Regions from separate parts of the Homo sapiens genome. Here all the other regions are linked to region 1. Evidence: promoter capture Hi-C in 16 types of primary human blood cells and fetal thymus (Javierre and others, 2016). All regions are on one chromosome and are shown on one strand. Each heading gives the region's core, a stretch centred on a gene start or on the middle of the fragment in contact. The rest is flanking DNA. Distances are from core to core; before and after follow the strand shown. Region 1 holds the start of CFAP299 (cilia and flagella associated protein 299). Region 2 has its middle 44 kb from the start of BMP3. Region 3 has its middle 45 kb from the start of BMP3. Region 4 has its middle 24 kb from the start of BMP3. Region 5 overlaps BMP3 (bone morphogenetic protein 3).

What was found. Contacts are between HindIII fragments. The CHiCAGO score rates a contact against its expected background, and 5 or more counts as called.
Region 2: a fragment that was not itself captured here is called in contact with the fragment with the promoter of CFAP299 in region 1 in 4 of 17 cell types (M2 macrophages, total B cells, naive CD4 T cells and 1 more); the score reaches 7.8 in M2 macrophages.
Region 3: a fragment that was not itself captured here is called in contact with the fragment with the promoter of CFAP299 in region 1 in 4 of 17 cell types (naive CD8 T cells, activated CD4 T cells, fetal thymus and 1 more); the score reaches 8.6 in naive CD8 T cells.
Region 4: a contact is called between a fragment that was not itself captured here and the fragment with the promoter of CFAP299 in region 1, in 5 of 17 cell types (total CD4 T cells, non-activated CD4 T cells, naive CD8 T cells and 2 more). The highest score is 7.5, in total CD4 T cells.
Region 5: a contact is called between a fragment that was not itself captured here and the fragment with the promoter of CFAP299 in region 1, in 7 of 17 cell types (naive CD4 T cells, total B cells, naive CD8 T cells and 4 more). The highest score is 11.1, in naive CD4 T cells.

The regions. Positions count from the first base shown.
Region 1 is chr4:80,333,113-80,338,017 of GRCh38, forward strand. CFAP299 (cilia and flagella associated protein 299) reads left to right here and starts at 2,618. Exons shown (of 6, transcript NM_152770.3): 1 at 2,618-2,767. The coding sequence starts at 2,657. RefSeq lists an enhancer at 2,610-2,759. The HindIII fragment of the contact is 3,926 bases long and covers 757-4,682 here.
Region 2 is chr4:81,072,503-81,077,092 of GRCh38, forward strand. No RefSeq gene overlaps it. Among named protein-coding and RNA genes, the nearest start is that of BMP3, 44 kb to the left of the region's middle. The HindIII fragment of the contact is 4,027 bases long and covers 1,185-4,590 here.
Region 3 is chr4:80,983,142-80,987,638 of GRCh38, forward strand. No RefSeq gene overlaps it. Among named protein-coding and RNA genes, the nearest start is that of BMP3, 45 kb to the right of the region's middle. The HindIII fragment of the contact is 1,935 bases long and covers 1,683-3,617 here.
Region 4 is chr4:81,004,251-81,009,343 of GRCh38, forward strand. No RefSeq gene overlaps it. Among named protein-coding and RNA genes, the nearest start is that of BMP3, 24 kb to the right of the region's middle. The HindIII fragment of the contact is 1,929 bases long and covers 591-2,519 here.
Region 5 is chr4:81,056,151-81,061,226 of GRCh38, forward strand. It overlaps BMP3 (bone morphogenetic protein 3), which reads left to right. Exons shown (of 3, transcript NM_001201.5): 3 at 1-1,477. Among named protein-coding and RNA genes, the nearest start is that of BMP3, 28 kb to the left of the region's middle. The HindIII fragment of the contact is 2,365 bases long and covers 1,588-3,952 here.

The sequences.
Region 1 (4,905 bases), core at 1,368-3,867:
CAATGACAAGGCAGGAGCAAACTCCCGGATTATGACACATGAACACATTGTGTCTCCAGGACAGAGAAGCAGTGGAACCAGAACTCCAGCATCCTAGAATAACTGAGACTGTGAGGAAGTCCAGCGATCTCATCACGAGAAATAGCTCAAGTAAATTTAGTATCACCATTGTTTCTAAGTGCAAAAAAGCTCTCCTTGGCTGATGATTAAGCAATAGCCCTCATCTGCAGTCATAGTTAACAAGCAGCTAGGCAACACCAGACACAAATCTCTTGTCCTATTAGAGTAAGTATATGTTTTTTTCCTACAATATGATAACATATTAATAGAACGTCTTAATAGATCCTCAAGTTCTTATTAACATAAGCAAAACATTCCCTTCCTGTCATGTCAACAAACCAAAGTATGTTTTCCTTTCACTGTGTCAGCTATCATAGTATATTGCCAAATATTTTGGAATATAAAAGTGTAGAGCTTAATTTGAAACTTTTTAATATACTTCCACCAAGTAAGTACCTTAAATCTGGCATATATTTTGTTATTCTTACATAACATATGTTTCCTCTTTCCTACATCTTGGGGTTTTATTATGAATATACTAATCCTTCTTTGTCCTTTTGCAAAGAATGGAATTTCTGGGATCGGTGCTAAATTCCAGGTTTCAGTCTTTAAAAATCTTGGACTTGAAGTAGGAATGCATGTTATCCAAAATAAAGTATTTCTTGATCATAACAAAAGCCTTGCAATGAAAAGAGAAGCTTGCCGAAACTTACTAATTTCTTTGTTGCCACCCTTTCATTTCTCAGGCACAGGTCTGAAAGTGGTTCTGAAGTTAAATTGAAAGTTTAGAAAAGGACAATTGAGTTATACGCACTATTAATTCTAGCCTTACTGTGAGGAACAAGGATAAGTTTATGAATTTTCTTGATATTAATAGAGAAGCTGATTTGCTGAAAATCAGCCTCAGTGTTTTGAGTTAGAAGACATTTCTAGACTCATTGACTGAAAATAATTTCATGATTGTTTAAATTTAGATGCTGTAGAGATTACTTCATCAAAGAGATGTTGACCAAATGGCAAATTTAATGAGGTTTCTCTAAAAAATGCACAATCACAATTGATATAATAGAACAATATATAGCCAAACCATGACCTCACATTTTACTAACATATAGGTCCTTTTCATTAAAGTGCTCTAGTTTAATAAACCCAAACATTCTCTAGATGCTTTACTGTTTCTTAAAAGTGATGAAATCTTGATATAGGAGGATTCTTCTGCCTCAGCTTCCTGAGTAGCTGGGATTACAGGCGCCCACCATCATGCCTAGCTAATTTTTGTAATTTTAGTAGAGACGGAATTTCACCATGTTGGCCAGTCTGGTCTTGAACTCCTGACCTCGTGATCCACCCACCTCGGCCTCCCAAAGTGCTGGGAGTCACTGTACCTGGCCTATTATTACTTTTGATGGGTTACCAGTGTCCAAGGTTTTATCTCCTTTTTGTTTTCCCAAATTCAATAATTAAATTGCATTCAAAAATAAGGCCCAAAATATCTTTAAAAACATGTCAGAATACATTCATTAAACAAACAAAAAAACAAGTTAGTAGCATCCTAAATATTGTGTCTATATCACTTAAAATTTGCAAGTCATGACATCCTAATTTTTAAGATGAACTTTTTAAATTAGGAAAGCTAACTGAAATGAAGTATCTTACCAGATGTTTTCATTAAAATTTTGTTAGCAAATCTGTGAAAATCTTCAAGATGAATTAGAAACGTACTTACAGAGCAACAATTAAAGGCTTAGCATTGTATTATATGCTAATTCCCAAGGATGGTTTGTAAAATATTAAAATCCAAAGATTGGTTCTGAACATATTTTGCCAGCTGTTGTGTTGGATTACTTTAAATTCATATTTTAAAAACACAATACTGTTCTGAAGAAAACAAAAAATCTTTAGTGAAAGACTTTATTTAATAAGATTTCACAGATATTTTATTCTTTAAAAAGGGCAGCTTCAACACAGCAAAATTTTTCACTGTGCTAAAATAGTAAAATAAGTGCAAGAACTTGGTGCCAAAAAAGGTCTGCAAAGACATTTTTTTGACTGAGTTTCTTTCCTTTGGGAATTTCATAAATTGCTTCTTGTACACAAACATTAGCAATAATTTACCTTTGTTATAACTTTAAAAATAATTTAACAAAATCATTATTTTATTATTGTCGTTGTCACAACACCATTTGATATACTTGTTTTTGAGACAGTCTTTTTGCAAAATGTCTCGGTATTTTTGTCTTGCATAACATTGTTTTAGAATGCAATTGGGAGCTAATTCCTAATATTTTGTCTAAGTATGTAGGCAGTGTCATACTTTTTAACTTTGGATTGCAGTTTGCACCTCTCTGGTTGCTCAACAGTTCACTGAAGCCTGAGTCGGTGGATGGGTATCCGACCTGAACTTGGGTGGGTAATTCCAGAAAGTTTTCACAGGAGTGAGGCAGAAGACAGAAACTGCAACAAACCGCCGGGGGGTGGGATTAACGTCCAAAGCTCACACCGGCTTCAACTGATTGGCAGGAACGAAGTGGGTGGAGCCTCCTGACCCTGCCCTCCTGCTTCCGTTGCTAGGGACGCTTCGGCCGAGGATACCGCAATGGATCAGGAAGAGGGGCTGAAGGCCTTGGACAATATTGTCACTCAATTCAACGCCTATGAAGATTTCCTGGACTCGCAGATCACTACTGTGGACTTGTACTACCTGGAGGTAAGGGCGGAGCGCGGCAGAGTAGCCGCCGCCGCGCGTCCCTCGGTCCCTCCTCGAGTTCCCGCTTCGTGGGCTGGTCGCCCCCTGGCGCTGGACAGCTCAGCTGTCAGGCGCCGCGGTTTCGGGACCGCGACACTAAAGCCGCTGGCGAGGTGAATTGCCGCGTCCTTACCGCCCCGCGCTCCCCGGTCCGGACAGAACTTGGGCCCCTAGAGTCACCCAGCGCAGAAACGCGCGGGCACACTCACACTGGGGAGCCATGAATTTGTGCTTCTTGGCCTCCCCTGCCTCCTCCCAGCCCACTCCCATTCCAAAGCCGCTCTCTGTGAGGAAGGAGGTCTGCTGAGAAGTCTCCGGCTGTGATCTAGGACAGACACCTGTTTCTCTCTGCTTTGCCAATTGGTATATTAAAGAACAGAAGATGGCATCTTTACACCAACCTAGTGTATTTGGTGTTATATTGGGCGTTTGGGTTCATGAACTTCCACCTCACACTAATTGATTCTGAAAGTACTTTAATTACAGAGACGCATTACAGGTAGTTGTGCAGACATATTCCTGATTCAAGTTTATCGAGTTGATGATCACAACTAACTTTGATAGTAAAAATATACACACAAAAAAGGAGCGAAACTGGACCTAATGGGTTGCTTTCCTCTGCCCAACAGCCAATCCCCTCCCCAGCTACCCCCGCTGCAGGGTGGTGGGGGACAGAGTGGAGTTCTTGTCCTGTGCCACGGGAGAACCCGGACGCGCAGGAATTAACAAGTCATCAGTGCTAGGAAGCTGGGAGGCGGACGATGGCTCCTAAAGTCCCAGTATATTCCTAGCCAAACTTCCCGGATAGGCCCACTGAATGGACACTCACCTGGAGAGTCGGCCGTGCTCTCCACAGGACCCAGAAATGCCTTATCCCTATTTAGGCCAGAGAGAACAGGCGCCACTATGTGGTGAAAAGCCACATCAGTCTGGGAAGGATTTGCATCCTGCCACCAGCTCCCCACACTTCTGAACTGCAACAAGGTAACTGCATTTTAGTGGATTGACACTTTTGGACTTCAAAGATTGGTTACAGAGGCATTTCACTTAAATATGGATTACAGGTTTCAAAAGTGTTATTCTTCAGTACATTTAAAAAATAAATGTAGGTGGTATTTCCAATATAGCTCCTGGCTTCAAAAGCAAAATTTTAAAACATTATACAGATAATATATTTAAAGTCATAAAAGTCAGTTTATGCCTTGCATCCAAGACACTGAAAAAGTAATGCTGCTAAACAATGTTTACATCTAAATTTTTGAATGTTTAAATAAACAAAAAATGAAATATACGCTATAAACATCTTGATAGACTAAAATCATCTTTGTAGCATATGTGGAAGATTGGCAAATTTAAACCTAGTATTATTAAGAAAGGTTTTAATATTTTTTAAGGCACAGTTCTTCATGTGAGTATGGACCTAAAACATTAATATTAATTACAGATGTGAAATTAATAATTTGTGTTTCATCAATCAGAATTTTTTTTTTTTTTTTTGAGATAGAGTTTCACTCTGTGGCCCAGGCCAGAGTGCAGTGGCCCCATCTCGGCTCACTGCAACCTCCGCTCCCCAGGTTCAAGTGATTCTCTTGCCTCAGCCTCCCAAGTTTCTGGGATTACAGGTCTGCACCACCATACCCAGCTAATTTTTGTATTTTTAGCAGAGACAGGGTTTCACCATGTTGGCCAGGCTGGTCTCGAACTCCTGACCTCAAGTGATCCACCGGCCTCAGCCTCCCAAAGTGCTGGAATTACAGGTGTGAGCCACCACACCCAGCCCATCAATCAGAATTCATTAAAGGTTTCCAAAATGGAAGGTGGTAATTATATTTGGGGAAATGACAAAGAAATTTACTTTTATATTTGGCATTGATTAAGCTTATTTTTGTTGTACTTTCATAAAAAGTAAGATGAAGATTTAGTTGAATAATGATAATTAGACAGGTATATATATGTTTACATATATATGTATATATTTGGATTGATTAGTGACAACTTTTAAAGTGCTATTATTTCTAGAGATCTACATTCTCAAATACTTTCTGTGGATGTAAGTTCATTGTGCACTTAGGTCACACAGAAACAAGTAGACTCCTCAG
Region 2 (4,590 bases), core at 1,948-4,447, 740 kb after region 1:
GTTGCAATTTTAAATAAGTCATCAAGAAAAAACACACTAAGACGGTTAGATTTGAGTCAAAACATAAAGAGAGGTAAATACATGCAGGTAAATACTTAAATTCCTGGAAGAGAAAGAAGTGCGTGCAAAGACCCTGGGTTGAGAGTATACCTGCCATGTTTGAGGAAGAGCAAGGGGGCCAATGTGATTGGAATGGAGTGAGTGAGAGAGAAAAGTAGGACATCAAGTCAGACAGGTAACAGAGATGGAAATGGAATGGGTTAGGCTATTGGTTATGAATTATTTTGGCTTTTCCTCTTGAGTGAGATGGGAAGTCATCACAGGATTTTGTAGAGAGAAGTGATATGATTGTCTGGCTTACATTTAATAGGATTTTCCTAGTAGTCTGATTTCTCAGAATGGCTTATATGGATATCTAATTTGTTTCCGTATATCCGGTTTTATTCTTTTCAATGTGGATATCCAGTTTTCTCAACATCATTTGTTGAGGAGACTATTCTTCCCCATTGTTCATGCTTGGTACCCTTGTCAAGCATGTCAGAAATCAGTTAATCTTTTACGTATGGTTTTATTTGTGGGCTCTTTGTTCTGTTCCATTGGTCAATATGTCTGTTTTATGTTAATATTGTACTGTTTTAATCATTGTAGCATTGTAATAGATCTTGAAATCAGAAAGTGTGATGCCTTTAGGTTTGCTTTTCTTTCTCAAGATTACTTTGGCTATTCAAGATCTTTTGTAGTTACATATAAATTTTAGAATTTTTTTTTCTATTTCTGCAAATAATGCCATTGGATTTTGATAGGGACTACATCGAATCTGTAGATTGTTTTGGCTAGTATGGACATTTTGACACTATTAAATCTTCTAATCCATTTACGTCGAATGCCTTTCTATTCATTTATATCTTCTTCCATTTCTTTCATCAATGTTTTATATTTTTTCAGTGTACAAATCTTTCATCTCATTGGTGAAATGTATTCCTAAATATTTTTATCTTTTCAATGCTTTTATAAATAAGATTGTTTTCTTAATTGCCTTTTCAGAGAGTTTGTTATTAGTGTATAAACACACAACTGATTTTTATATCTTGATTTTGTATATTACAATTATACTTACTTTTTAAATTACTTCTAACAGGTTTTTTGGTTTTTTGTTTTGTTTTGTTTGTTTTGTAGAGTCTTTAAGCTTTTCTATATGAGATCAAGTCATGTACAGAGACAATTTTACTTATTCCATTTCAATTTAGGTGCCTTTCATTTATTTTTCTTGCCTAAATGATCTGGCTAGTACTTCCAATACTATATTGAATAGAAGTGGTGAAGGTGAGACTCTTCATCTTTTTCCTAATCTTAGAGGAAAACTTTCAGTTTTTTAATCATCTGCTATAATGTGAGCTGTGAGTTTATCATATGTGACCTTTATTATGTAGAGGTAAATTCCTTTTACCTCTAGTTTTTTGAGTTTTTATACTGAAAGACTATTACGTTTTGTCAAACGCTTTTTCTGCATCATTAAAATGATCATGTGATTTTTATTCTTCATTCTGTTAATGTAATGTTTCACATTAATTGATTCACATGTCATGCCATCCTTGCACCCCAAAGATGAATCCCATGATGTGTGGTACATGATGTATTGTCCTAGTCATGCTGTATGGTCCTTTTAAAGTACTGTCGAATTTGATGTGCTAGTAGTCTGTTGAGGATTTTTGTTAATCAAGGACATTTGTGCCTGTAATTATCTTTTCTTGTGAGATTTTTGTGTGGCTTTGGTATCAGATGGACTCAAAATACGTTTGTAAATGTTCACTTTTCTTCAATCATTTTGGAGTAGTTGGAAAAGATTGGTGTTTGCTCTTCTTTAAATGTGTGGTAGAATCACCAGTGAAGACATGTGGTTCTGTGTTTTTCTTTGCTTGGAAGTTTTGATTGCTGATTCAATCTCCTTGCTTATTAGTCTGTTCATATTTTCTGTTTCTTCATGGTTCAGTCCCGGTAAGCTGTATGAGTCTAGGAATTTATCTGTTTCTTCTAGATTACCAGTTTGTTGGTGCATAATTGTTTATAGTAGTTTTTATGGACCTTTTTATTTCTGTGTCATGAATTGTAATGTCCACTTTTTTTATTTCTGATTTTGTTTATTTGAATCCTACAACTCAATAGGAAAAAAAAAACAATGAAAAGTGGGCAAGACTGGAATAGATATTTCTCTAAGGAAGATGTACAAATGGCTAACAGGTATATGAAAAGATGCTCAGCATCACTAATCATCAGAGAAATGCAAGTCAAAACCACAATGAGAAATCACCTCATACCTGTTAGGATGGCTATTATCAAAAAATAATAATAACCATTGTTGCTGAGGATGTGGAGAAATTTGAACCTTTGTATACTGTTGTTGGGAATGTAAAATGGTGCCATTGCTATGAAAAACAGTATAGAGTTTTCTAAAATAAAAATAAAAATAGAACTACTATATGATCCAGCAATCCCCCTTCCAGATATGTATCCAAAAGAATTAAAATCAGGATCTGAAAGAGATATCTCCATTTCCATGTTCCTTGCAGCATTATTCACAATAGCCAAGATAGGGAAACAACCTAAATTTCTATTGAGGAATGCATGGATGAAGAAAATGTGGTATGTACATATAATGGAAAATTATTCAGCCTTATAAAAGAAGAAAAGTTTGCTACATGTGACAACACTGATGAATCTGGAAGACAGTATGGTAAGTTAAATAAGACAGTCACAGATGGACAAAAACTGCATGGTTCCACTCATAGGAAGTATCTAAAATAGTCGAACTCAAAGAAACAGTAGAATGGTGGTTACATGGGCTGGGGCAAGGGGGAAATGAGTAGTTGTTATTCAACAAATATAAAGTCTCAGTTTTGCAAGATGAATACCTTCTAGAGATCTGCTGTGCAACAAGGTGCCTATAGTTAACATTGCTGTATTATGCACTTAACAACTTGAGAGGGTAGATCTCAGGTTAAGTGTTCTTACCACAAAAAAAAAAAAAGAAATATTGTTCATGACCAAAATTTTTATTGCATATGTTTTCAAAAATTTAGAGAAATATTGAGAAGGTAGGAAGCATGGAAAAGAATCTATTATTCCGCAACTCAGAGGTCAACATTTTTTTTTGTTATTTTCTTTTGGTCTTTTCTCTCTTTTTGTATGCAAATATATTTAACATTTGTAGCAACCATGAAGTTTAAATTTTGTTATATTCCCCTTAATATTAAACAATGATTCTTTTTATATGATATCCAATATTCCCCTGTAATATAAAAAGTGTACTGAACCAAGGCCAAGTCATTGATATGTAATATGAAATCACAACCATAACCAAGAAATTATTTGTGGTATTTGATTTCAGTTGCTCTATGGATTATTGTATGTACTATAGGTGCTCAAACATGTTTATTGAGTGAATGTTGAATTTCAATGTAAGAAAAAATTAAATAAAAATAGGCTAAAGGACAAAAAGAAAGAGCTAGTATTCCCAATTCTGTTAAACTTGAAAGGTAGCAGAAATTGAACTTTGAATGAAGAGAGATAAAAAGCTAAGTAAGTTCAAAACTCTCCCACTCTGATCACATTCCATCACCTAAAATCTTAACAGCACTGCTTGTACATAATATAGGTATTTTGACTGATACCCCAGTATGATGCATACTGGAGAATATTTTTGACCATAGCTATTACATATTATAGTTAGTGCATGAAATGCAAGGTCTTTTGTTTAAAGCAGTTTTGACTCCGAAAATATACCACACAAAAATGGGAATTTAAAACTCTTTTATTCCCCATAAATGGTCATAGTGATGGAAATGATGTTACCCATTCTGAGTAACAACAATAAATATCATGCACACAGTAGGTCCTTTAAAAATATTAGTTGAATAAGTCTTTGAAGTGTGCTAATTTATTTTCCAACCTGGGTCAAACTTCCACATCTATTATTAAGTTGCTGCAAAAGTAATTGCAGTTTTTGCCATTGAAAGTAATGACAAAAAACCGCAATTAGTTTTGCACCAACCCAATATGTGGTAATAATAATAACTACATAAAATGGAGGCAAAAATTTCAAGTGAGATAACATATATAAAGTACTTAGCACACTGTGTCACAGAAGTACTTAAAATGTGATTCTCCTTTCTTTTTATTTTACCTCATACAGTTGTAATCACCAATATCTGCAACTCTACTTGAAAAATAACTGAGACCACAGTCCGCAAACATTACTAGAAGAAAGGATATTTTACACACACATACACAGGCACACACCCACCCACATATATACATACATACATACTTGTGTACATTCAATTACCAACTTAGAACTTTGAAAACCCCAAGGATCATCCTTGCTTATTTCCTCTCTCTCCCTCACTCTCACATCCAATCTCGTCACCTCTCTCTCCAAACAGTTCCAGTCTACCCAGTATTCTTTGTCCATGACCCACTTGACACTCTAGTGTGAGCCAGTCCCCATCAGTTTTCCCCTGAATTAAGTAATTCAACTGCCTGCTTCCTTTATTCTTCAATCTATGTTTCATCCTAGCATAGCCACCAGAGTGA
Region 3 (4,497 bases), core at 1,400-3,899, 650 kb after region 1:
AAATAAATACAGTACCAAACCAGAAAAAAAAGAAATAATGAGATAGCCCTTTTCATTTGAGGTGTCATGGCCTGGCAGGCAGCCCCCTGTGGTGGGTTCCTTTCAAGATGTCTCAGACCAACATCCTGTTCTAAATACCATTTACCCTTCAGGAAATGACATATTTTATTTTCCTGCCAATGAAGGGAAGGACATTTTACCCAACTGCAACCTTCTTTCTTAAATCTGCTAACTTCCCTCTTGCAGAATTCTCCAGGTGGGAAGAAATCACTGATTTTCATTACCGCATTTCCATTACCACATGGTTGACCAAGTTTGGTCACCATGTAGAATGAGGAGATAAATCGGGTAATTCTCTTTAGAATACAGTAATACTTATCTCTTACTGTTTTTAGCTTTCAGCTTTTACCAACATTTAGGAAAAAATCCCTTTTAACATCACGTTCCATAAATATTCAAACTCAGTGAGACGAGTGCAATAATATGAATACATAAACCTTTCTCACCACTCACTGCTAAACTGATTCAGTGGGCCTGTTTTCTCCCCAGCACCAACTCCTTCCTAAGACTTCAGGAGGAGAAAATCATCCCATAGCTTTTCTGTTCTTTGCTTAGTCAAAAACAAATTCAATTAGCTTACACCATCTCAGTTAAATTTTAAACTTGTTTACTATTCAGGGATTCTTCAAGGTAGTTGTTAAAACTTTGGTAGCTTGATATGGACTGTGGTGGGGGTATTTACACCATGAAAATTGGCAAACACTAAAAACCTGAGTTTGGAGGGAAAGATTCAGTTTACCAACACTAGTCAAGGATAATAATAAAAAAAAAATTGATTTAAAACTACCCCTCCCTAATATTTGTACACCAAGCTATAAGTATGACTATAACATAAATAAGATGTTGGTGAAAAACTTTTGATAACTCCCACTTCCCCGAGCCCCAAGACCATGGCTAGCTTCAAACTTGGAAGCCTAGAATAAGGGAGAATATAGTTTCTTGTATACTCTTTCTTGCTGTTATAGTACACCTCTCCTGCTTGATAGTTGCTGTTTCTTATCTTTCTAGGGTTTGGCTGCAAGGAGAGGAGATTAGGGAGAAAGGACATAGCCTTGGGTGGCCGATGAAGTTGTAACCTAGCGTTGGTTCCCCAACTGTGATGGATGCACCCTTGCTGTGCTCTTTCTCATACTCCTCTGGCTGACTGTTTAGGTCATTCCTCCAGTCATGGGACTCAGAGGGTCCAAGCTTCAGTTGGGGTTATAAGCACCTCCTGACTGCCTCTTAGGTAAGATTCCTTTTAAAATGATCCCTGATAGGCTGCCTCCTCTCTCACCCGCATTTGCCCTCCCCTCTAGTCTTTGTTCTCAGAAAATAGGCACTTGCAGCCCTCTATGTGCTCTGTCCCTCAAGATTCTCTTGCCCTTGATTTTGCAGACAGGAGTCAGCTACTGATCCTTGTGTCTTCCAAACTCCAGACAACATAATTGTAACTCTCTTGAAAAGTAATTTTCTTGAAACATCCTTTCTCACTTGGGCTAATACAAAGAAGAACAATCCCCCAAGTTCCTCTCAATGGGGAAAGAAATCCATAAAGCAGAAAAACACCCCTCCAAAAATGTTATTCTCCCCAAATTTCTTTTTTGTAGCCCATGATGGGTAAAGGGCCAATGGAGCCAAAAAGCTTTATGGCTTTTGTACACACTGAATAGAAAATCGAGTACCATGCTTTATGATGTGGGGCATAGTTTGCACCTATTGTATTGTTCTAGGCTTTTGGCACCTTGGCAGAAATTCTGAGCAAACAAGAAAAAGTCATATTTAACATTTTAGTATATATATATTTGAATTTATTTATAAAATATCTTGAGCAGTACATATTCACACAACCTCAGGAGAAAAGCATTTGGGGGATATATGTTCTTTTTACTTCACGATTTTCCATAGTATGTAGTTTACCATTGTAGTGTGAGTGTATGATCATATTATATTTTTTAAGTGATGGCGCAGGTGCTGATTCAGATTTGGGAGCTACTGACCTCTCAGAATCCATTATTCTGTTCAAGGAAGTTATTGCAATTTGTAATAATTTCATTATTTGTATGTCTCTTTATTATCTGTCTCACAGTGTAATGTCCAAGATCTGTTTGTATTTGTAATCAGTGTAGCCCTGCCATTAAGATGTTAGTAGATGTTCTTTGCTGGAACAAGAAACCAAGAAAACAGGAGCGAATAGAAGTGCTTACCTATAGCATGTGAGTATGATGTAGAGGGAAGTTAGAACAATGCTTTCGAGTGTATATTTGTTTATATTATTTAGGTTTTTGAACAATGTAAATGTATTTTTTCAAAAACAAGGGTTTTTGAAAAAAAAGCCTGAAACAAATATAGGGGGAAAATTAACATTTTCTTTTTCTTTGTAGTAGCATGTATATATATGTATATGTATACATAAAGTTTCCTGAACTTTGTGTCTATTTAAATATTTCATAAATTGGAAATTTTAAGGAAAAGACAAAAAGAAAACACTACATGATACAATAGTTTAAAGAACATTTTCTGTGAAGTTAGAACAAAACAACGAATTTCTTCTACCTCTATCACCCAGACTGTTACCTGTTGCCTTCTACCTTTATCACCCAGGACAAAAGATGTCTTCATTTGTAAAATTCAGATAGTAATCACATAATCCATACAAAATTATGTGGTAAAGTGCCTTGTAAATTATAACATAATACAAATATTCATATTTTTTCTTATTTCAAATTCCTTAAATTTGGGTACCATACTTTGTTCTTCTTTATATATGCTCCAACTGTTAGCTCAGTACCTGGCTATGGGACTACTGTCTCTATTTCCTAAATATAAACTAAAATTTTTCAAGGCTGAAGATACAAAAAGACTCATCCCAGGGAAAGCAGTGACTAGGAATTGTAGCCTTGGTTTTTATTCTCCTGAGATTAACCCTTCATATGGGAAAATGGTTGTCAATTATGGCTGCTTGAGTTCAGCAGCCTCAAGGGATACTGCTCTCTCCTTATCCATGTCAACTCAGTGTGCATTCATGACTTCCCTTGGTTGCTCTTAGCCTGGTTGGGAATAAGCCAACTCATTAAACAGACTTGACTAAATACATGTAGACAGCAGTAAAATTGCAGTATTAAAATACTTTACTAAATTCTTGGAGATGGCAAAAAGAAGAAAGAAGGGTGGGAAGTGGAGAAGGAGAAGAGAAAAAAAAAGAAATAACACAAGACCAAATTTGATACATCATATAAAAGAAAATACACTAAACCAAATAATCTTATTTATAAAATGTTGCTTTCTCTTTAGAAGTCCCAGACTCTATCCTAGCCTAGCAATCACCCTGCCTCCACGTAGAGAGAGCCATGTTAATATACACAATCAAAATGACCATTGAAGAGCATTCTAGTCATTCAAAATGTATTGTCAAAGAGTAAGACACATAAACACACATGGACAAATACATCCAGCTTTTATCAATTCAGACTTCTTCTAATTTAAAAACTTATTCATTAGCTAGAAACACTTCGGGACTATTCAGCAGATAAATATGATTAGTGTCTCAGAAACTCAGGAATGTTAAAGATGGCCTAAGCTTTAGAAAAACAAAACAGCTACATGTTTGAGTTTGATGTTCATAACATTATCCATATTACATGTTTAGTCAAAAATATTAGCACATAGAATTAGTTGAATATTTGCATTTTATGATTTTTCTTTGGTCTAAAAACACGCACCTGTTTTCCAGCTTAAGTAAGATTTAACTAGTAGGAAGAGGAAGAAGCCCTTAAAGAATTGTTCTAGGGTTCTATAAAATTCAAGTATTTATTTTTAAAAACTCAATTAAGGAAATTATTTTTCTCCCCAGGGAGACACGTTTTTCCTTCCCTTTTCTTAAATTTAATTACATAATATTTTAATAGATGTCCTAAAACTCAGGAAGTGAAAAATTAGAAAATATGCATAAAAGCTCTTGCAGTATAAATGACCTCAGACACAGATCAAAAACATTAGAGCCATTATTATTATAGAAGAATAGTCGGGGGCTTCCTAATCAAATTAATAAAGAAGAAATAAGCTTTCCACTGCCAAAGAGATTCAGTATTATGAAATAGACTCACTTTCTAATATGAGTACATCATGAGTCATGTTCAATTATGTAAAATTAAAACTCTACCATAAAGAAACAGAGTACAATCAGTGATTATTCAGAAAATTCCAAAATTCAATAATGAGGAATTTATCCTGTCTGTTCATTAAAGGAGTTTAATATACATCACATTCTAATGATGCAAATATTTAGTCAGTCCCAATAAGCAGCTCTTTAAGGATCCAAACATTTTAAATTCACTTTCAAGCCATCCTTCCAGCTTCAAGATTTCATTTTTGTTGTGTTGTCCTATTACTTATTTATTTTTATTCCACTAGCTTTAGCAATACAAGTGGCTTTTGATGACACAGATGAATTGCATA
Region 4 (5,093 bases), core at 305-2,804, 670 kb after region 1:
TCAACTAGTGAGAATTGAAAGGCTCTTCTCAACTGAAGTAAAAATGGTAAAAATTGATCTACGCCTCCTTAACAATTGGCAGCATAATGGTAAATGGCAGCAAACGGTAATAATTGATCTATGCTTCCTTAAGTTTTCTCAAGAGAAGCAAAAATAGTAAAAATTGGTTTATGCTGCTTTAGCAATATAAAATAACACTGCACCTGATGAGATAAGAACCAGATATTCCCTCTCCTTGTAGTGAAAAGTTGGGTTAGAAATAAAGCAGGCTTAGAAAACTCAAGTATGGAGCAGAAAAGTGGTATCACTGGAAATGCAATAGAAAAGAAAAATCACTGAATTGAGGTAATATTTACTGAAGAGATTTCCCATTAACCTTTCCTACTCACTGAATAATGGCAGAGAAGAAAACTGAAGATTTGCTAGCAATGGGCCTGGAGGAAATGAGGAAAAGCCAAATAATCACATGTCCCATTGTTTCATCACTTCCTCACTTTAAGACATCCTGAAATATGAATAAAAACAACATCTAGATATGCTTATAGACTACGACAAAATCAATCATCAACAAACCATTGCTATTTCTGGGAAGCTTAATGTATAAAGGCAAAGTGCTAAAGAAACTTAAATATGTGTAGATTGGATGGAAAGCAGAGCTAGAACTAAATTAATAGCTTCGTGTCTCCCACAGATACATAGTGCCTTTGTATGTGACTACATGTATGTCTGCATGAAGTATCATCGAACTATGTATTTCATTTAGAGATAAAACCAAGTCAAAGGGAATTTAAAATCAGTTTTCTTAATTGATTTGTTCAACCAAAACTTATGTATAAGTGCTTACTAATGTGCCACATGCAATTTTGTGTCCTAAGGATAAAGCAGTGAGCAAAAATGGACAGAGAGCATAAACTTTTTGGCCAGATCATAGAAATGCAAGAGTATTTGGGAGTCTCCCTGGAAGATCATTCCCTGAGTTGCCCAAGCCTTTTATTCTTAATTAGATGGGCAATGAGGAATCATTAAACGTGTTTTTCTCAGAGGAAAGGCAGAAGCAATTTATACTGCAGAAAGACGAATACATTAGCTATGTGCAAAATAGATGGGAGGGAGAATCAAGAATTTGGAAGGTTGGAAACCTATTTCTTGAAGTTGCTGCATTAACATAGTTATGAGGACAAAGGAAAATGAATTAGAGTGGTGTCAATGAGAGTATAAAACAAGCGATCAGATCTTTGTCAGAACTGGCAAAAGTTGGGGACAATTGCAGAGAGTAAGAGAGGAAGAAGGGAGCACAAAAAATTTAGTTAAGAAAGGCCACATGATAGAGGTCAATTTCCTAATAAAAGTGACCTAAATTATTCTAAGAATCACATAACACCAAGAAATCAGTAAGTTCATTAAGTTTTCCTTAAATTGAGGTAACTGATAAGACATGTCAGAATGCTCACAGCTCTCCAGGCACTGGGGTCAAGAGTGGGGCTTAGACTTCAATGTTACTTATCTTAAATTCATCAGTAAGATCCATAATGTTAACACACACTGCATTAGAGCTAACAGTTTGTTTTACAATTGATGGAGATGCCCTTCATCACTCCTTAAAAAAAGTAAGTGTTGGAGGAAAAAAACATATTTGAGAATGACCTCTTTTTTAATCAATAAGGACATGAACTCACCTCCTTTCACAGAAGAGAAAATCTTCATTTTTTTTCCTCTAATGCCAACATGCCACACACTAGTTATGTGGCTTGGATAAGAAAGGCAACACGCTATGGTTAAACACACACTAAAACTGAGAACTTAGGTAACATTCATTCATTCATTCATTCATTCAATAAGCCTTCCTTGAACATCCTCTTCATGCTAGGAACCATTCATGACCCTGTAGGGAAGACAGAGAAAATAACTTCAGGTGATAATAGTGAAAAATGAGACAACACAGTATATTAAGAGTGCAACTGAGGAACACAGGAAAGCTACTTTTGGCTATGGAAATTTCATGAAGGGAGTAAAATCTGAACCCCTTCTCAAGGGTTGAGCAGGAGTTTGCCATATGTATCCACCAAGGATGACTTTCCCAGTAGAAAGAACTGAGCCGCCATCAGCTCACTAAATCCCACTGGGTTGGCATTTAAATGTTGTCTTTTGAAACCAATCTTGTAAATCTTAAATGCAAAAGTATTTCCTTCCAAAGAATAAAATATACATTTTGAGAAGAGATTAAGAGAGTTGAGGATGGTAGAAATTACTGTCTTTGGGATACATTAATAAGACATTTTATGAAAGCATAAAAGAGTTGAGAAAGAATCACATTTTCCACATTGATAGTTAAGTAATGTGGACAAATAAAGGACGTGTTTAGATAGCAGCCTATAAATTCAATATTTTTACAATGTACATGAGTTTTTACAGTTTTCTTCAATGGTTAATTCTTGTTTGTTTTACTGAAAAGCCCTTAATAATCTTAATTTTTTGAGTGCACAATTCAAGAATTCTGTTCAATTGTAGGGACATTTAAAAGCTTACTGATCTATCATTGTTTCAATCAATTATTAGAAGTGGAGCAGTAAGAGTTTGTCTTTTGAAATGGTAATTACTTGATTCTATACCACAATTCACAGTAAATGTATTAAGAAATAGTTTTTATTACATGTCCTTCAACTATAAAATTCTTAAAATACTATAATTTCTTTAAGATGTAGGTTATACCATGTATTTTTAAGGATACCTTTTAAAAATGATGTATTGAAACAACATAGTTGGATTTGCACTAAATGATCTCTAAATTAGAATGATACAGCAGTCTTGAAAGAAAAAAAACAATCAAACTGCAATTTTCTGATCTTCATTAATCCATTCAATGCTCTTATGAAATAGAAGCAATTCTTATTATTCAAAATAGTTACATCTATAAAGTCACCATGAACACTGAATTAACAAATACTAAATCATTGCTCCTGAGGGAAAAATAAGAATAGGTTCCTGGGAGCCTCTGGCCACAATAATTTTATCAACCAATCAATGTAAAACCTTGCTTTATGTGTGTTTTTGTTTAAAGACACCTTATATAATCTATATTATTGATTCATTTACATTGAACTAATGGCCCACATTACTGTAATGGCTGATTGAAGCTTATATGACATATGTACTTTCTCCATATGGCACACCACAGCCTTCTTGTGCTTAAGAACACTAGACAGTACTTCAGCCCATGCTTGGGGACCATCGTAAACAGTGAAATTACCAACAAAAGTACACAAAATGTGAAAAACATGTCACTCAGTAGACTGTGGAAAGGACAGTTCTTTTTAGTATGAGAACTGAAATAAGAAGCCAGAGTTGCCTTGTTTATCCTCAGCTGGGAATGTGCAGATTAGGTGACTCACATTTTTTCACTCCATGCATGTTCAAGAATGACTGCAAAAGTGCCCCAGTATTGATTTGGAGGATACCAATAAATTTTAGCTAGTAGGTTGAATTTGCAAACACGGAGTCTTCAAAGAATGAAAATTTTGACTACAGTTATTATTACTAATATTTAGTAAGGAAACAGAGACTCAGAAAGCATACATAATTCACACAAAGATATCCAGCTAGGAAATGGCTAGTTGAATAATTATTCAAACCTAGCCTCATGTAAGGACATTAGCCTTAACTCATTTTTCCAAATAGTGTGACAGAAGGATTAGGAACACAGGTTCTGGAACCTGAGTGTCTGAGTTCCAGTGTTAATGGTACCATTTATTAGCTGTTTGACCTTGAAATATAAGTTAACTCCTCTGATATGATTTGGCTGTGTCCCCACCCAAATTTCATCTTGAATTGTAGTTCCCATAATCCCCACATGTCATGGGAAGGACCAGATGGAGATAATTGAATCATAGGGGTGGTTTCCCCCATCCTGTTCTCCTGATAGTGAGTTAGTTTTCATGAGATCTGATGGTTTTATAAAGGACTTCTCCCATAGCTGGGCACTCATTTCTCTCTCCTGCTACCATGTGAAGAAGGACATGTTTGCTTCCCTTTCTTCCATGATTGTAAGTTTCCTGAGGCCTCCCCAGCTATGTGGAACTGTGAGTCAATTAAACTTCTTTTCTTTATGAATTATCCAGTCTCAGGCAGTTCTTTATAGTAGAGTGAGACCAGACTAATAAAGTAAATTGGTACCAGGTATTGGGGCACTGCTGTAAAGATACACAAAAATGTGGACGTGACTTTGGAACTGGGTAACAGTAAGAGATTGGAATCATTTGGAGGGCTCAGAAGAAGGCAGGAAAATGTGGGAAAGTTGAAACTTCCTTGACTTGGAGGGCTCAGAAGACAGGAAGATATGGGAAAGTTTGGAACTTCCTGGAAACCTGTTGAAAGGCTTTGACCAAATTGCTGATACTGATATGAACAATAAAGTCTGGGTTGAGGTCATCTCAGATGGAGATGAGAAACTTATTGGGAACTGGAGTGAAGGTCATTCTTGCTATGCAAAGAGACTGGTGGCATTTTGCCCCTGCCTTAGAGATCTGTGGAACTTTGAACTTGAGAGAGATAATTTAGAGTATCTGGTGGAAGAAATTTCTAAGCAGCAAAGCGTTCAAAAGGAAGCAGAGCAAAAATGTTTGGAAAATTTGCAGCTTGGTGATGTGATAGAAAAAAAAAACATTTTTCTGGGGAGAAATTCAAGCCCCCTGCAGAAATTTGCATAAGTAACAAGGGCAAGACAATGGGAAAATGTCTCCAGGGCATGTCAGAGACCTTGATGGCAGCCCCTCTCATCACAGGCCCAGAGGCCTAAGAGAGATAAAATGGTATTCTGGGGCAGGACCAGGGCCCCCCCTGCTGTGTGGACCTTGGGGACTTGGTACCCTGCATCCCAGCTGCTCCATCCATGGCTAAAATTGGCCAAGGTACAGCTCAGGTTGTTGTTTCAGAGAGTGCAAGCCCCAAGCCTTGGCAGCTTCCACATGGTGTTGGATCAGCAGCTGTACAGAAGGCAAGAACTGAGGTTTGGGAATTTCTGCTTAGGTTTCAGAGGATGTATGGAAATGCCTGCATGTCCAGGCAGAATTCTGCTGCAGGGGCAGAGCCCTCAAGGA
Region 5 (5,076 bases), core at 1,520-4,019, 720 kb after region 1:
AGCTTTAGAAATCTCCTGATATTAAATTATTAAATTGGCATTCATGAAAAGAGAAGCTACAATTATAAACTCCATTTGCTAAATCATGCATAATACTCTCTCTCTCTCTTCCCCCACAAGTAATCTCTCTACCCCATGCAGTGTGCACACACACACACACACAGTCAGTTACTGAAAAAAATAATTCTTTTTCTTTTTTTTTTTAAATGGAGTTTCACTCTTGTCGCCCAGGCTGGAGTGCAGTGGCGTGATCTCGGCCCACTGCAACCTCCACCTCCCAGGTTCAAGCAGTTCTCCTGCCTCAGCCTCCTGAGTAGCTGGGATTACAGGTGTCCGCCACCATGCCTGGCTAATTTTTTTATTTGATAAAAAGAATTCTTTTTCTCAATAACTGTTCTCTTGAATTCAAATTAAGGGACTGCCAAAGTCAATTAGAATATTTTAAAAATACTTTGTTGTAACCTGTGTAAATAATATACAATTTACAGGATTTGGGATTGTAGAACTTAAACTGGAAGACTGGATTCCTCAGATCTCAGGACTATAACATTCCAGATAAATTTTTACATTCCCTTTGCTGTATATTAACTGATGATCATTTATATGTTAAGATTTTTTACCTTAATATTTCTGAATAAAACTCTTATTGCCCATTTAATATTTTCATAGGCAATCAAATGTGAGTAATACTGCTAAGAGTCTGATTTATTAAAAATATTTGTATAATTCATTCAGTTTAGTTTTTCAGTTTAGTCTTTCTGCTTTCACTTTTCTCTGTGCTAACAAGTAACTAATGTCTGGGCATTGACTTCTTATTGAATCAAAGTTGGGTTAGGCATAGCTATGCACACCTGATGTGTAAGATTAAAGAAGAGATTAAATAAGAAATCTTGGGTAAGTTGGACTTTTCTGTATAGCTCTTTTTTCCTCTGAGTTGTATTTTAATGTAGTTTATAAGTGATAAAATGATCCTTGTTTTCTAAAAGCCAGTCCTTCCCTTCAGCTTTCCACAGTTTCTGTAAATGTTTAATACTTGTACAGTCAATGGCAATTTTAAATATATATATATATATAATATATGTATATGGAAAAGGTTCAAAGATGCTTTTAATTTATTTAATGACTATTGCCTTCCTATAATAATAATTTTCATCCTTAATTATGATAATACTTTTAGCAAGAAAAATTCCTTTTTACTACAGTTTTTAGATGCAAAATGCAGTTTGGTTCTTTAGTCAAATCCACTTAGAGGGTATATTGCAGTGAAACTGTGAAGGATACTTCACTACCAATGTATAAGCTTTGTTGAATTTGTATCATTTTCTTTCAGTAATGAAAAGCTATTCATTATACAGTATGGAAATAAAAATTGCTTCATTGACCATTCATTTTTACTTATTGGGAAATACTATATTTCCAGACATTTTCAAGTGTGCTGCATTTAAAAGAGGTAATAAAGCTTAAGCATAGAGTTGAACATTTTCAAATGGTATTCTAAATGGAGCATCGTAACTTACTCTTAACATAACATGATTATCGTTGTAAAACAAGATTGAAATATACCCATCAGGAAAAATATATCTTTCAAGCTTGAGAAACTCAACTTAAATTGTTTCATATTTTCTTTTCTTTTTTAACCAAAAACTCCACATTTTATAGTTGGAGACTTTTGTTTCTTTCTGGATGTCTGACTCACTATTTTGACAATAACTTTATTTCATCTATCATTCTTACCATGTCCTGTTCTTTTAGAATGATAACTATCTAAATTTAATTAATCTTATCATTGAGATATATTCTAGCCATTTTTTGTTTAGGCCATAGTTTTTTCTTTAAGGAAAAAAAATGACCTGAAATTAAGAAATAAAATATGCTTTTATATTATTTTTATTATTTTAATCCATCTTTGTAACACTGTGTATGTTTGCATTTTGGAACTACAAGGAAATTTTAAAGATCATCTTGAACAAGTTCCTTAACTTCTCAGTGCCTCATTTATCTTACTTATAAAATGGGACAATAAACTTTCTGCTTCTTAGGGTTGTTACAAGGTTTAATGAGATAATACATGTGAATGACTTAGCCAAGTGTCTAAAACAGAATAAAGACTTAGTAAATATCAATTGTTATTATTTTTACTATTATCTAATGTAGTCTTCCCATTTTCCAGTGAGGAAATGTAGACATGCTATACTGTAAGTTTGGATGTCTACCCATCATGCCTCCCTTTGGAACTGGCCCCCACCAACAGGAATGGTTCCTTGACACATGACAAAATTGGACCAATGCTGGTAAAGCTGAGAGGTTATTTAGCAGCATGGCTGGCAATGGAGGCTTCCAGTGATTTTTAGCAGGCATGTGGAAACGTTGTAAAAGCTAGTTGTGAAGAGAGAAGAATAAATTGGCCAGGGATAGAGCATTGGGCCTTGCATAGTAAAAAGAGTGGCTGCTCTGTTTCCTGATGATATTTTAGTTCCTGTATCTTTTTCTCATAAATCGAACTTTGTGTCCTTGGTTTGCACTGGCTATCCCTGAAAACTCAACAATTACTCACTTGTACTTATGCTGGTTTAAGCCAATATCTGTAACTTGCAACCAAACAGTATTGACTATGATATACTGGAGTAAGTATGCCCAATTGCATAAGACTAGCAACTGGAAAAACTGGTATTAGAATTCTTTGTAACATTATGGAGAGAGCATCTTCCTTGAGATAATACCACCTTGAGTTTGAATTCTGGTTCTTTCAGTTAGTAGCAGAGTGATGTATGCCTTTGAGGAATATTGATGGAATCATCATACTTTCAGGGTAGCCAGTTTTGTGACTAATGAATACTTTCAAAAGAGTTGCCTCAGTTCTCATGCCAGAGGATTGTCTTGAAATACCACTTAGAATTGATCTTTGTAGCTATTAGAAGGTATGGTGGGAATTAAGGTTAAGAATAAGAACGTTGAGCACACATCCACTTAGTATTACCAAGGATTGCTCACATCATACAAAACTCTATTTTAGTGGGTAGAGATGTGCTTGATGATATAAAGCATTAATGCCTACATTGTCTGCAGTCTCAGAACTGGAAGTTAGCTATATGTAACTATTAACAAGTGAATATCAACCAGTAAAATGAAAATATATTCACATAGGAAAAGCACAATGTTACAGAGTTATATATATTTACATCCACAACATACAAAATGTGAGAACCCCGTGAGCCTTCCCTTCATACTCTTTTGTTCACAAAAAGTGGATGTTCTCACAATATGATATTTAAATTTTAATTTGGGTTATATTTGTTTTTTTCAATTGCATTTGAAGCAACATCAGAATCTATGGCAATGCTAAGCTCTGGGCTTGAGCACTTTCCTAAGTTCCTTCACCTCTTACATGTCCTAATTTTCTCCAGGTGGTGGTTAAAAATTCCTTTTTGCTCTAGTATACCAGAATCCATGAGTCAAACATCCATATTAAATCACAACTTATAAATATTTTTCTCCTGATCATGTCTTGGGAAAAAAAGCAACAACAAAAGTCACGATGGAAGGGAAAGAGAGAACACAAGAAAGGACCAGGGTAATAGATCATCCGTCCCTCAACTTAGGAGATTGTTGATTCTATCTCACTTCTATCATGTGATGGGGTTTGTGAGACTCTTCTACTTTTCATACCTACATTTTATTTACAGCATTCTTCCTCTTACTTTAATAATAAAAAGTAGGTGATATTATTTGTCTTACTATATTTTAACAAATAACTAAGGCATCTAATACCTTAACGAAAAACAAAGCCAAATGAATTGTAGAAAATAGACTAAAATATTATATATGTGTATTTCTGGTATATGAAAGTTTATTTTTATGCATATTGTATTTCATAGATACAGGCTTACAGGCAGACAATTTACGTTAGAATCTCAACTCTGTCACTTACTGTAGGACCTTGGACAAGTTATTAAGCTTCTTTCTGTTTCCATGTCCTCATGTGTAAAATGAGAACAAAACACAGAGCCTGCCTTACAGGGCTGTGAAAATTACTTGAGCCTTTATACATGAAACACTTATAAATGTTCATAGCACAAAGTAAATATTCTTCGAAATTTGCTTTTTGATTTTTTTAAATGCATTTTATACACTTCCATGAATGAGTCCTCATTTGACCCTGAGAAGTATTGGTGCGTATTATCCTCACTTTACTGACCCAGGAGAATAACTGACACACCTTAGGTCAGAACCATGCTAGTAGCATCAGGGCTGGGATTCCAGCAGCGATAATCTCACCCCAATTGTCCTATTCTTTTGCACTTCACCTCAGTTGCCTCTACTTAAAGAAAGCTGCCAGAGTAATTTCACCCATCTTTCCTTGGAGTCCTGAGAAATTTGAGGAAAATAGACTATCGCATCATAAAGAAAGCAAAAAAAAGTTTTAATAATGGGGTAATGTTTGATTAGTGTTGGGATCTGAGAACTTTCCCCTGAGTTGAACTTCCCCACCCAATTTCAGGTCAACCCGGGTGGTACAGAGATGGTCTCAGTGAGTTGAATTTTTGGAAAATGGAAAAATGTGCATTTTGAGTAAATAAATTCTGAAAAAGGGAAAGTCAAAGTGAGGCTGAACTGTGTACTCTCAGTTCCCATTTCTTCTCATCGTCAATCAGATATGTCTCTCCCCTTAAAGAGAAAGGATAGGGACAAGAGCAGAAAATATTACTTCAACACCGTTTCCACCCAGAGAGTACAAAGGAATTCCTGTTCCTGTCTAAGGAGAATAGAGGTAGTATACTAATAAGAGCCTCCCCTTCATCTCCACAATGCCACTAAACAGGAAATTCTGGCCTTCCCTACACGCCAAAAGAACAACAGCACAGGTGACTTAAACTTTAAATCTTAACATGGCCCCACTAAAAATATGAACCAATGGTCAAACCACCAGCTTTTACCCTGTCATCGGTAGGATCATTGCTCCTTCTCCCATGGGGAAGAGCCATGAGAGGAGGAAGAAAAAAACAAGAAGTATCTCCCAGCACTGTTTTCTCTTAGCCAGTGGGGTGGAAGTTGAGCGCCCTTTAGAGGAAAATGAGA